Regions from separate parts of the Homo sapiens genome. Here regions 1 and 3 are each linked to region 2. Evidence: promoter capture Hi-C in 16 types of primary human blood cells and fetal thymus (Javierre and others, 2016). All regions are on one chromosome and are shown on one strand. The core of a region is centred on a gene start or on the middle of the fragment in contact, and the rest is flanking DNA. Distances in the headings are between cores, read along the strand shown. Region 1 overlaps IKZF3 (IKAROS family zinc finger 3). Region 2 holds the start of PSMD3 (proteasome 26S subunit, non-ATPase 3). Region 3 overlaps CASC3 (CASC3 exon junction complex subunit).

What was found. The method cuts DNA at HindIII sites, captures the fragments that hold promoters and counts their contacts. A CHiCAGO score of 5 or more calls a contact.
Region 1: a contact is called between a fragment that was not itself captured here and the fragment with the promoter of PSMD3 in region 2, in 6 of 17 cell types (naive CD4 T cells, total B cells, total CD4 T cells and 3 more). The highest score is 6.4, in naive CD4 T cells.
Region 3: a fragment that was not itself captured here is called in contact with the fragment with the promoter of PSMD3 in region 2 in 1 of 17 cell types (neutrophils); the score reaches 6.1 in neutrophils.

The regions. Positions count from the first base shown.
Region 1 is chr17:39,776,733-39,780,765 of GRCh38, forward strand. IKZF3 (IKAROS family zinc finger 3) reads right to left here. Exons shown (of 8, transcript NM_012481.5): 7 at 919-1,035. Among named protein-coding and RNA genes, the nearest start is that of GRB7, 41 kb to the left of the region's middle. RefSeq lists a silencer at 1,649-1,882. The HindIII fragment of the contact is 4,957 bases long and covers 1-4,033 here.
Region 2 is chr17:39,978,540-39,982,553 of GRCh38, forward strand. PSMD3 (proteasome 26S subunit, non-ATPase 3) reads left to right here and starts at 2,268. Exons shown (of 12, transcript NM_002809.4): 1 at 2,268-2,651. The coding sequence starts at 2,432. RefSeq lists enhancers at 78-1,277, 1,699-1,878, 2,099-2,378, 2,179-3,156 and a silencer at 2,559-2,608. The HindIII fragment of the contact is 5,666 bases long and covers 611-4,014 here.
Region 3 is chr17:40,157,031-40,161,486 of GRCh38, forward strand. All of the region lies in intron 3 of CASC3 (CASC3 exon junction complex subunit), which reads left to right. Among named protein-coding and RNA genes, the nearest start is that of MIR6866, 2.7 kb to the right of the region's middle. The HindIII fragment of the contact is 7,918 bases long and covers 1-4,456 here.

The sequences.
Region 1 (4,033 bases), core at 803-3,302, 200 kb before region 2:
AACTTATTATCTGTAAGAGCTATTGAGAAGAATAAATACAAAAGGACTGAAATAAAAAATCAACAGCGGCAAGCAGCTTTGGAAAAAGAGGCTGAGACAGGTTTCTAAAATATTACTGATGTTGAGGGAGGTCTATTTTCATGTGATAACTATTTTTGTTCAATATCACCAACTTTCAATTTATAGCAAAACTGATACATTCAATTTCAGCTGTCTACTTCACAAATACAAATCTATTTCAAATATCATGGTCACATTTATGTAAACATCTGGGAGAGTTCAGCAAAATGTCTCTGCCATTTGGAAGTCCTAACACTTCAATGAACATAATTATTTCATACCCATCTCATTCTGCTGTATTTTTTGACAATGTGAAAACCAATGGCATAAAAATGAACTCCAGTAAGACAAATGATTAAATCAAACCTTGTTATTTAAATCTATGTTTGCCCAACCACTTTCCCTTAAAGCCAATTCTCAAATTCAAGAAAATATGGCAATATGTTTTAGAGCATGAAAAAAGTTTGAGCATGCTAACGAACCAACTTGTAAAATATAATTACAAAAGATTACAAAAATGCTATCTTGAACATCTTACTGGTATAAATTGCATAAACTCTCTCATGCAACATATGTCATTCAGAGTAAAGAGGAAGGAACAGGATTTTAAACATCACATCCATTTAGGAAATTGGATATCAACTACTCCCATCTCCTGTCATGATGATGCTTTAGTTAATATCTTTTATTCTATTTTCCAGAGCTATCAGAATGAACCATGAAGAATAAAAGTACACAATGAAAAACTAATTATTTTAACAGAGGTTAAGCTAGGAAAGGCCTTGTGTAGCAAGCATCCTATGTTATTTCATTCAAACTATCTGCTAACAACAGCAGGAAAAAGGTTTGTATTCTTACCAATGAATTTCTGAGGCATTGAGCTTTTTCGTTTTGCCACATTGCTTGCTAATCTGTCCAGTACGAGAGCTCTTTCACTTCCCATCTCTGCTTTGATGTGTCTTGCCTCCGCACTTGCTAGTTTGGAAAAATGTAAAAAGAAGAGAGAAAAGAACACATTGGTACATGGGGAGAAAAGGAAATAAACTGGAAGGAGAAGTGTCCGAAGTTGGATGCACACTCTATTGTTGTTACCTGTTATAACTGCTCAGATTCTTGCCTGGGGTACCTGCTGTGGTCAGTGAAGCCGACACCAGGGCACATTCAAATCTTGCAGTCTTATGCCGAGATGGGAAAGCTCGACCCATCCCCAACCAGTACCTTCATTAGCAAGAGGAAGTATTAAATAAACAGCCTGGACGTGGTTGGTTGCAAAAAGATAGATAGATGGAGATCTAACCCCCGATCAGCCTTCTTTCTGATTCTGAGTAACTGCGTGTGACACCTGCAGACTGATATAATTCTTAACAACTTTGAAAAAAAAGCATGGTGCCCCAGATTTACTGCTCTGTTTATGTTAACAGCACTTTTGAAAATAGGTACACTCACACAGATAGCAAGACATCTACTCAGTGATTTGTGTATTGAAATTCTGAGTGGTTTCTTTCTTTTTCTTTTTCTTTTTTTTTTTCAGCACGCTCCTCTCAGTTCCTATCTTTCATATTCTGTTTCTCTGTGCTCTGTATTATCTGTTTCATATGCTCTTCACATTTCAAAATAGTCTCAATTAAAATTTCCCTAAGCAACACTTCTGCCTTGAAATTAAAGAACAATTTGTATAATGCATCTGTATTGAATTTCTAATAAAAATGTGAATAAAAACTGCCTATGGGCTGGGTGCGGTGGCTCATGCCTGTAATCCCAGCACTTTGGGAGGTGGAGGTGGGCAGATCACCTGAGGTCGGAGTTCGAGACCAGCCTGACCAACTTGGAGAAACCCTGTCTCTACTAAAAATACAAAATTAGCCTGGTGTGATGGTGCATGCCTGTAATCCCAGCTACTCGGGAGGCTGAGGCAGGAGAATCACTTGAACCTGGGAGGCAGAGGTTGCAGTGAGCCGAGATGGCGCCATTGCACTCCTGCCTGGGCAACAAGGGCAAAATTCCGTCTCAAAAAACAAAGAAACAAACAAAACACAAAAAAACCTGCCTATGAATGTGGGCCCATCCACAAATAGACCTGTGAGTGGTGTAGGCCTGTGGTTCTCAGACCTGGCTGCACATTAGACTCACCTGAATAGCAGGTAAGAAATACCTATGCCCAGGCCCCCCTTCAGATCAATTAAATCAGGATTTCTGGTATAGGGGCCTAGGCAAGAATATTTTCAAAGCTCCCCAGATGATTTTAAAATGCAGCCAGAATTGAGAACTACTAGAAGAGTATATAAATAGTGGCAATATCTAATCAACTAAAATAGTAAACTGTAATGAATATAATTTACCTCAATTCAGCAGGCAGTGCCCAAATTTATGTCTAAAGTTCAAAGAAGGCCAGGCACGGTGGCTCACGTCTATAATCCCAGCACTTTGCAAGGCCGAGGCGGGCAGATCACCTGAGGTCGGGAGTTCAAGACCAGCCTGACCAACATGGAGAAACCCCATCTCTACTAAAAATATAAATAATTAGCTGGGTGTGGTGGCGAATGCCTGTAATCTTAGCTCTCGGGAGGCTGAGGCCGGAGAATCGCTTGAACCCAGGAGGCAGAGGTTGTGGTGAGCCGAGATTGAGCCATTGCACTCCAGCCTGGGCAATAAGAGCAAAACTCCATCTCCAAAAAATAAATAAATTAATTAAATAAATTTCAAAGAGATACCAGCTTCTCTAAATACAAGGCTTGACATTTTAACACATGATGCTAGCCTGAACCAGGGATCAGCAAACTTTTGTCTGTAAAGGGCCAGACAGTAAATTTTAAAAATTTGCCAGACACATATAGTCTCTATGTTATATTCTTTGTTTTTTGTTTTTTTTTTTTCTGTTCCACGGCCTTTTAAAAACGTAAAAATCCCTGTACACAAACAGGCCACTGGCTGCACTTGCCTAGAGCGCCACAGTTTGCCCTCACCTGCCCTGGGCAAACATATTGTGATGCTGTAAACATTTTTCTCTGTTTTCTCATAAACACTTCGGGAGATCCAAACTAAAATGAACTATCCATACATTTCTATTATGTCTAAGGAAGAATAAATTGAAATTAGTTTAAGGGATTAGAGTAAAAAGCAAGTAGTGGCTGGCACAGTGGCTCACCCCTGTAATCCCAGTGCTTTGGGAGACTGAGGCAGGAAGATTGCTTGAGGCCAGGAGTTGAGACCAACCTGGGCAATATAGCAAGATCCTGTTCCTACAAAAAGTAATTTTAAAAAATTAGCTGGGCATGTTGGCATGCGCCTGTAGTCCTAGCTACTTGGGAGACTGAGGTGGGAGGGTTCCTTGAGCCCAGGGGTTTGAGGTTACGGTGAACTATTAAGGTAACTGCAAAGACCACAATTACTTTTGCACCAACCTATTAGTGCCAGTGCACTCCAGCCTGCGTGACAGAGTGAGACTCTGTCTAAAAAAAAAAAAAAAAGCCCCAAAGTATTAAATATTTCTAATTTTATTAGTGGCCTTAAAAAACTGTATGTTAGTCATTACACAATACATTATAAAGCTCAGTTTTCATTATTTAGTTAATTTATTTACTTATTTTTGAAACAGGGTCTCAACTCTGTTACCCAGGGTGGAGTGCAGTGGCATGATCACAGCTCACTGCAGGCTCAACCTCCTGGGCTCAAGTAATCCTTCTACCTCAGGTTCCAAAGTTGCTGGGACTACAGTCTAAAGCCACCATGCCTGGCTAATTAAAAAAAAAAATTATTAGTCTCAATATATTGCTCAGTCTGGTCTCCAACTCTTGGCCTCAGGCAGTCCTCCCACTTCAGCCTCCCAAAGTGTTGGGATTACAGGCATGAGCCACTGCACTCAGCCAAAGCTCAGCTTTTTTTTTTTTCCTGGAATAACATAAAATCTGGCTCTGCCAGGTGTGGTGGCACTAGCCCATAGTCCCAGCTACTCAGGAGGCTGAGGTGAGAGGAT
Region 2 (4,014 bases), core at 1,018-3,517:
AGGCATGGTGGCATGTGTCTGTGGTCCCAGCTACTCGGGAGGCTGAGGTTAGAGGATCACTTGAGCCTGGGAGGCTGAGGCTGCAGTTAGCCAAGATAGCACCACTGCACTCCAGCTTGGGTGATGGAGCGAGATCCTGTCTCAAAAAATAAAAATAATTTTTAAAAAAGTAGTTCTATGAGTGCAGTACATGTCTGTAATCCCAGCACTTTGCAAGGCCGAGGCAGGAGGATCACCTGAGGTCAGGAGTTCAAGACCAGCCTAATCAACATAGTGAAGCCCTGTCTCTACTAAAAATTAAAAAAAAAAAAATTAAAAATTAGCTGGACATGGTGGCTCGCACCTGTAGTCCCAGCTACTCAGGAGAAGGAGGCAGGAGAATCGCTTGAACCCCAGAGGGGGAGGTTGCAGTGAGCCAAGATCACGACACTGTACTCCCTAGCCTGGCCAACAGAACGAGATTCCGTTTAAAAAAAAAAAAAAGTTTTATGAGTGGAAGAATTTCTCTAAGGATTTTGGTCCGTGGAGTCAGACTCTCCCCCAGTGTCTTAGTCACCCCCTGCCCAGCCTGGTTCCCTCATCCACCAAGAATTCATGACCAACTGCCAGAAGCTTTGTGTTATGCCGCCAGCCTCCCTGATCCTGAGCACCTTCCAAAGCCTCACTCTATTGCTCATGGATATACTGGGTTGTTATCTGCTGACTTGGTTGTTTTCTCCTTGTGATGTAAACTTAATAGAGAGATGAGCTAACACCCTAACTATCTAGAAGAGTAACTCCTTTGATTGTTAAGGATGAACATAACTCATCTGTTTTCTTCCTTACCATTCTCGCCCACCTTCAGTTGCAGATATGGTGTTATGAAGAGGTTCTAATGAGTTTATTCCAATGATGATTCAAAAGTCCTGTTATCCACCCCCCAGCCCTGGAGGGTGAGAGGACAGTTGAGGAGGAACTGGTCAAGGCATGTTCCCTAAAACTAGAGCACATATCTTTCCAGTTAGCGAGTGGCTGTTTAACGCAAGGAACATCCTGCAATCCTATGAAAGAGGATGCAAAAGATATGCAGGATACCCTTTATATATGCAAAGGAGGAGGTCAAAACATATTTCCTGCCTTCTAGGTCCTTACAACAGGGCTAGATTGTCTTGTAGGGTCCGTGAAAGGTCTAAAACTCAGGACTTCCACTTATGGGAGAGAGAAAAGTTTCAAGGTAGGGAGAGAGTTTTTGTTGTGTGTTCTAAGAAATTGGGAGCTATATCCTTCACCTTGTTTCACCTTCCCTGCAGAACCAGTGGGGCAGTCCTTTGAAAAATAAGTGGGTAGGGTTTCTTGTCCAATTTGCTTCCCCTTAGGTACACCACTAAGTAAACCATCATTCTCTCCTTAGGCACACCATTATTCTGTTCCCCATTTCACAATGTCTGTCTGGATGTATAAAAGCCCTCTCAATGGGCTCCCTAAAGCGTCTGCCAGTAGGGGCTCCCACCCTCTTTCCTCAACACTCCCAATCCACCGCAGCCCAGAGCACAGTGTCTGCTTATCTAACCATCTGACTCCCCCGTATACTACATTCTTGAGCTGTTTTTCACCCCCCTATTTGCTAACCGTGGGCCGTACATAGGGTGGACCCCTATATTTTGTTAAACTGGAGTGATTCTACGCAAATGCACGCTCCTACCTATCGGCACTCCCAGCCTGCAGAAATTGTATGCCTTATGTTCAGCACTAAACTCAAATCTAACCAAGGAAGTCCGGATCCCATAGGGTTCTTCCTACTCTCCAGTTCGGTTTATTTTAAGGCCAACAGCCCTAGCTTCACGTCCCTCCTTCACAGCCTTCTTTCCTTCCCTCCTGCCGGATGCGCCCGGCAGCCGTTGAGCACAAGCCCAGCGGATCTGGAAGGAGACCCCGCCGCGACCGGGGAAAATTGAGCGAACTTGGGCGCAAAACCCGCCCGGCAACTCGTGACGTCATCTCGTCCCGCGCTCGGATAGGCTGTACCCACTCCACGCTGGTTGAGGCGCTCTTAAAGTCCTTTGTAACCCAGATTGGAGCCTGAGGGGACCTCTCGTGGACGCCCACAGAAATGCACTCGAGAGGAACATAAAAGCATCACACTTAAGCGCTCGAAAGAAAGCCCCACGAACCCATAAAGGCTCCTCCCCGCTCCTTCCTCGAAGCTCCTCCTTCATCCTGCACCTCGGCTGTGGATTTATTTCCCCTTTGTTGACTCGGCCATCGGCCTGCCGGGCCTGGCGTTTCCCAGAAGGCCCAGCGCCGGGAAGGGGTTTGCAGCTGCTCCGTCATCGTGCGGCCCGACGCTATCTCGCGCTCGTGTGCAGGCCCGGCTCGGCTCCTGGTCCCCGGTGCGAGGGTTAACGCGAGGCCCCGGCCTCGGTCCCCGGACTAGGCCGTGACCCCGGGTGCCATGAAGCAGGAGGGCTCGGCGCGGCGCCGCGGCGCGGACAAGGCGAAACCGCCGCCCGGCGGAGGAGAACAAGAACCCCCACCGCCGCCGGCCCCCCAGGATGTGGAGATGAAAGAGGAGGCAGCGACGGGTGGCGGGTCGACGGGGGAGGCAGACGGCAAGACGGCGGCGGCAGCGGCTGAGCACTCCCAGCGAGAGCTGGACACAGTCACCTTGGAGGGTACGGCAGCCCAGGCCGGGAACGTGCCGCGATCGCGGGTGACAGCGACCCCTGTGATTTGGCTTCTTGCTGGGAAGCCACAGCAGCCTCCACCACCCTCAGTTCTTTGGGATCACCCCCAGATACCTGCTCCCACTGCCCCGACACTCCCGACTCCAGGCCCAATGACTGAACCTTCTCTCCAGGCTGGGAACCACTCCCCTCCCATCCCCTCCATCCCCATATCTGGGGTTGCATCTATATCTAGGTCCCAGTGGGCCTGGGGACTCCCTCTTTTAAGTCCTCCCCTCTGACCTATTCCGTTTATATCCCACCCGACTGATTTTAGCGCCTCCAATATATGACTGATTGTTCCCGCTGGAAACCAGTGTTTGTGTCTGTGTGTAAACAGGGCCAGGATGACCTAGAATATTGACTCCTGAGTTTTAAAACTGTACAGCAGATTTTTGTTGTCCTAGCTGCCTTTAGCACACTCCCCCGAATGAACCATTTCGACCTAGTATCTTGTTTCCTACTTCTCTAACTGAAGTGTCCCAACAGTCCCCTTGCTGTCTCCTCCCTTCAGGTCCTTACTGCCCCTCTGTTTCTAAAGGGTTTAAGTACATACACACTTAAAACTTTTCGGGTGTCATCTTTGTTTGGTTTTGTAATACTCAACCTTTGGCCTAAACTCCTATATACCGGTGTCTCCTATTTCTTTTCTCCGAGGTTCCTGTTTCGAGTGTCTGTAGTCCTCTTGTTCCTCCAAGTTCATGTTTTACTTTTCCCACTTACAGCGTCCTGTTTCCATTTGAAGTGGGCAAAGTGAGAGCTTCCCACTGTGATCCTGGTGCCATTTTCCTGGTTCTGGATCAAGTGGGACCAGACTACTTACTAGGTTTTCTTTTCACTAAAATGCGTGAGAAACTAGCTCAAAAACATTGAGATAAGCAAAGTTATCCTCCTAGGTGGTGCTTTTGAGGATGTGATGGTGTTGACTACATCAGCTCTTACTGTAAAGTTGAGCAACAGGATCGATATTTAATAGAGATCCTTTTACCTAAAGTAGTGGCAGCAATGTCAAAGGTGCCACTCAGCATTGCCTACTGGGTGTGTTTATTACAGGCACTTCATTTTCTTCTTGTAAAGTAATTCATATTCATTGCAGAAATTGTGGAATGTATGAGAAGTTAAAAGCAGGGGATAAAAAACATGGTTAACATTTTTTCTTGTGAATTTTTGAGCTGTTCTCCTATAATTGAGAGCAAGTTATGTATACAGTTTGTATCAAGGCATAACTAAATATAAATTTTGAATTTTATGTGTTTTCATTAACATTCGTAAACATAATCAGCATTCAATTTATTCCAGAAACATTTATTGA
Region 3 (4,456 bases), core at 1,712-4,211, 180 kb after region 2:
AGACCCCATCTGTTAAAAAAATAAAAGGGGGTTGGCCGGGCGCGGTGGCTCACGCCTGTAATCCCAGCACTTTGGGAGGCCGAGGCGGGTGGATCACGAGGTCAGGAGATCGAGACCATCCTGGCTAACATGGTGAAACCCCGTCTCTACTAAAAATACAAAAAATTAGCCAGGTTTGGTGGCGGGTGCGTGTAGTCCCAGCTACTCGGGAGGCTGAGGCAGGAGAATGGCGTGAACCTGGGAGGCAGAGTTTGCAGTGAGCTGAGATTGCACCACTACATTCCAGCCTGGACAACAGCGAGACTCCGTCTCAAATAAATAAATAAATAAATAAATAAATTAATTAATTAATTAATTAAAAGGGGCTGGGCGTGGTGCCTCATGCCTGTAATCCCAGCACCTCAGGAGGCCGAGGTGGGCGGCTTGCCTGAGCTCAGGACTTTGAGACCAGCCTGGGCAACATGGTGAAACCTTATCTCTACTAAAAGTACGAAAATAGCTGGGAGTGGTGGCATACGCCTGTAGTCCCTGCTACTCAGGAGGCTGAGGCATAAGAATTGCTTGAACCCAGGAGGTGGAGGTTGCAGTGAGCTGAGATCGCGCCATTGCACTCCAGCCTGGGCGACAGAGCAAGACTCTGTCTCCAAAATAAATAAATAATAAATAAAATATAAAGGACACCTATCCCTGTTGCAGTAAGAATTCCAAGTATAACTTTTGACTCACCCAAAACTTAACTACTAAGTCAACTGGAAGCCATACCAATAACATAAACAGTCAGTGAATATGTATTTTATATTTTATGTGTATTATGTACTGTACTCTTACAATGAAGCTAGAGAAAAGAAAATGTTATTAAGAAATCATTCACTATTAAGGAAACATACTATTCAGTGGAAGTGGATCATCATAAAGGTCTTCATCATCTTTGCATTGAGTAGACTTCAGAAGAGGAGGGGTTGATCTTGCTGCCTTGGGTGACAGAGGCAGTGGAAGGAGAGGCAGGCATACTTGCTGCAACTTCTATTGAAAAAAAATTTGCGTAGAAGTGGACCTGAGTAGTTCAAACCCCTTGTTCCAGCGTCAACTATACCCAGATGCTGAGCAGGGAAAAATGAGGAAGAGGGATTAATTGGCTTGTCTGGGCCAATCAGGCTGACTCAGCTCTATTTGAAGAGATGGCAGAAACTTAGAGTTTGAGAGTTTCTCAATCAGGAATTCAGGAATCTCATGTTGAGCCTCTTTGACCAGATTATTGGGGCCAGCCTGGGTCTTGAGTGACAGGGCAGTCTGGTTCAGTTCAAGTATCAGACCCAGTAGGTGAGTGAGAGACCAGTGTACATACATCTACCAGGTTTCAGATGTAACCCACCAATGAAGACTAGACCACCTTTCCTTGAACCCATTTCTCTGTGTTCTCGTAGGCCTCCCTAGCCATAGCTCTGCCTCCTTAGGTCCAAATCTGGGGAGGACAAGGAGAGGAGAGTAACCCTATTCTAAAGCCAGTTCCCTTATCATGAGCCTTAGCTGCTGCCTTTTCCTACCTAGAACTAGCCACACGTCCATTTCCTGGCCCTTTCTAATGGCCTAATGATCCTTTGTGTGTAGACCCAGCACTTTCTGTGTCATGAACAGTGTTACCCAATCTTGATGTGGTAAAAGAGGGAAGAAGATAGTAAAAAGAGAGAGAGAGCACTTGGACTAATTTTTTTCATTTCTGAAATGTGATGGTTGTACAAGTTGTCCTTTAAGGTTTTTTAGGTCAAATTTTTGTAATTATGTGATTCTGGATATGTTCTGGCTGCAGGAATTTTCTGCTGCAGAAAACCAGTACTCATAGGCATTAAAAAAAGCTACCATTTTCCAGCTTGAGGATAAGTGCATTGGGAAATCATGGAGTCATTATCAAGAGTTTGCACATCTGGTTGGGCGCAGTGGCTCATGCCTGTAATCCTAGCACTTTGGGAGGCTGAGGCAGGAGGTTCGCTTGAGCTCAGAAGTTTCAGACCAGCCTGGGTAATGTGGTGAAACTCTGTCTCTACAAAAAATACAAAAATTAGTTGGGCATAGTGGTGTACATCTGTAGTCCCAGCTACTTGTGGGGGCTGAGGTGGGAGGATTACTTGAGCCCAGGAAGTCAAGGCTATAGTCAGTTGAGATCACACCACTGCACTCCAGCCTGGGCGACAGAGTGAGACCCTGTCTCAAAAAAGAGTTGCATGTCTACTCATTCAGTTCTCATTATCTATAGACTAAAATATACATCTCCCCCCTTATGTACTACTATTTTTGAATATATGTAAATTAATAAAATGTAAACTTAAAGTGTTATTGAATGTATAACAGTTTGTTGTTTTTTGTTTGTTTTTGAGACAGTCTCTGTTGTCCAGGTTGGAGTGCAGTGGTGCGATCTCGGTTCACTGCAACCTCTGCCTCCCAGGTTAAAGTGATTCTCCCGCCTCAGCCTCCTGAGTAGCTGGGACTACAGGCACGCACGCATCAGTTCATTGTGTGTTTTTTTTTTTTTTTTTTTGAGACAGGATCTCTCTCTGTTGCTAAGACTGGAGCGCAGTGGCACAATTATGGCTCACTGCAACCTCTACCTCCTGGGCTGAAATGATCTCACACCTCAGCCTCCCAAGTTGCTGGGACTATAGGCGCACACCACCATTCCTGGCGAATTTTTTTTTTTTTTTTTTTTTTTTTGACAGGGTCTCACTCTTTTGCCCAGACTAGTATCAGTGGTGCAATCTTGGCTCACTGCAACCTCCACCTCCTGGGTTTAAGCAATTCTCTTGCCTCAGCCTCCCAAATAGCTGGGATTACAAATTCATGCCACCATGTCTGGCTGATTTTTGTATTTTTAGTAGAGACAGGGTTTCACCATGTTGGCCAGGCTGGTCTCAAACTCCGGACCTCAAGTGATCCACCTACCTCGGCCTCCCAGAGTGTTGGGATTACAGGCGTGAACCACTACATCCAGCCTAGCAGTTGTTTGTCATTGTATGTTTTCTCAGTGAATATCTCATGGGGATCCATGAAAATTTTTAGATCCTAAAAAGGGGTCCGCATAATCAAAAAGGTTGGGAATTTCTGCTCTAAGCCATTTTGAGATGGGAGAGTTCACAACTTACGTCAAAGTATAGTTATTAGGCACTGCATGTTTAAGAGACAATTCATGGGCCAGGTACAGTGTTCATGCCTGTAATCCCAGCCCTTTGGGAGGCCAAGGGAGGAGGATTGCTTGAGCTCAGCAGTTTGAGAACTGCCTAGGCAACATAGCGAGACCTCGTCTCTACTAAAAATAAAAAAAAATCAGCCAGGTGTGGTGGCATGTGCCTGTAGTCGCAGCTACTTGGGAGGCTGAGGTGGGAGGATCACTTGAGCCCAGGAGATTGAGATTGCAGTAAGCCATGATTGTGCCACTGCACTCCTGGGCAACAGAGCAAGACCCTGTCTCAAAACAGAAAAAAAAAAAAAGATAATTCATGGAGAGAGAGATTATCAAGGAAGATTAAGCTCCTCTTATATGTTAGGTATCGTATAGTAAGTCTCCCTTCCATTCTTATCCTCTGGGCCCATTAGAGGCTGCCGCTGTTTTTTTGTTTTTTTGTTTTGCTTTTTCGAGATGGAGTTTTGCTTTTGTCACCCAGGCTGGAGTGCAGTGGCACAAACTTGGCTCACTGCAACCTCCGCCTCCCGGCTAATTTTTGTATTTTTAGTAGAGACAGAGTTTCACCATGTTGGCCAGGCTGGTCTCGAACTCCTGACCTCAAGTGATACGCCTGCCTCGGCCTCCCAAAGTGCTGGGATTACAGGTGTAAGCCACTGCGCCCAGCCTGCCACTTTTAATAATTCTTGCATATGTTCCAGGAATACCTATGTGGATATATATGTATGTATGTGTGTATTTTTTTTAATGTGATATTTTTAAAATAGTGTCTTTTTTTTATTATTACTATTTTTTGCGACAGAGCCTTGCTCTGTCGCCCAGGCTGAAGTGCAGTGGCGCAGTCTCTGCTCACTGCAAGCTCTGCCTCCCTGGTTCAAACGATTTTCCTGCCTCAGCCTCCCGAGCAGCTGGGATTACAGGTGCCTACCACCAAGTGCGGCTAATTCTTATATTTCTAGTAGAGATGGGGTTTTGCCATGCTGGCCAGGTTGGTCTCACACTCCTGACCGCAGGTGATCTGCCTGCATTGGCCTCCCAAAATGTGATTACAGGCGTGAGCCACTGTGCCAGGCCAAAATAGGATCTTTATTTTCTAGAAATATGGGTAAGAATATTGATTTGTTTGCTTTTCAGTTCTATGTTGTACTAAAAATTTATTGATAAATGTATTCCTAAAGAGTAGAAAATTGAAATGCAGCCAGGCACGGTGGCTCACGCCTATAAACCCAGCACTTTGGGCGGCCAAGGCAGGCAGATCACGAAATCAGGAGTTCAAGACCAGCC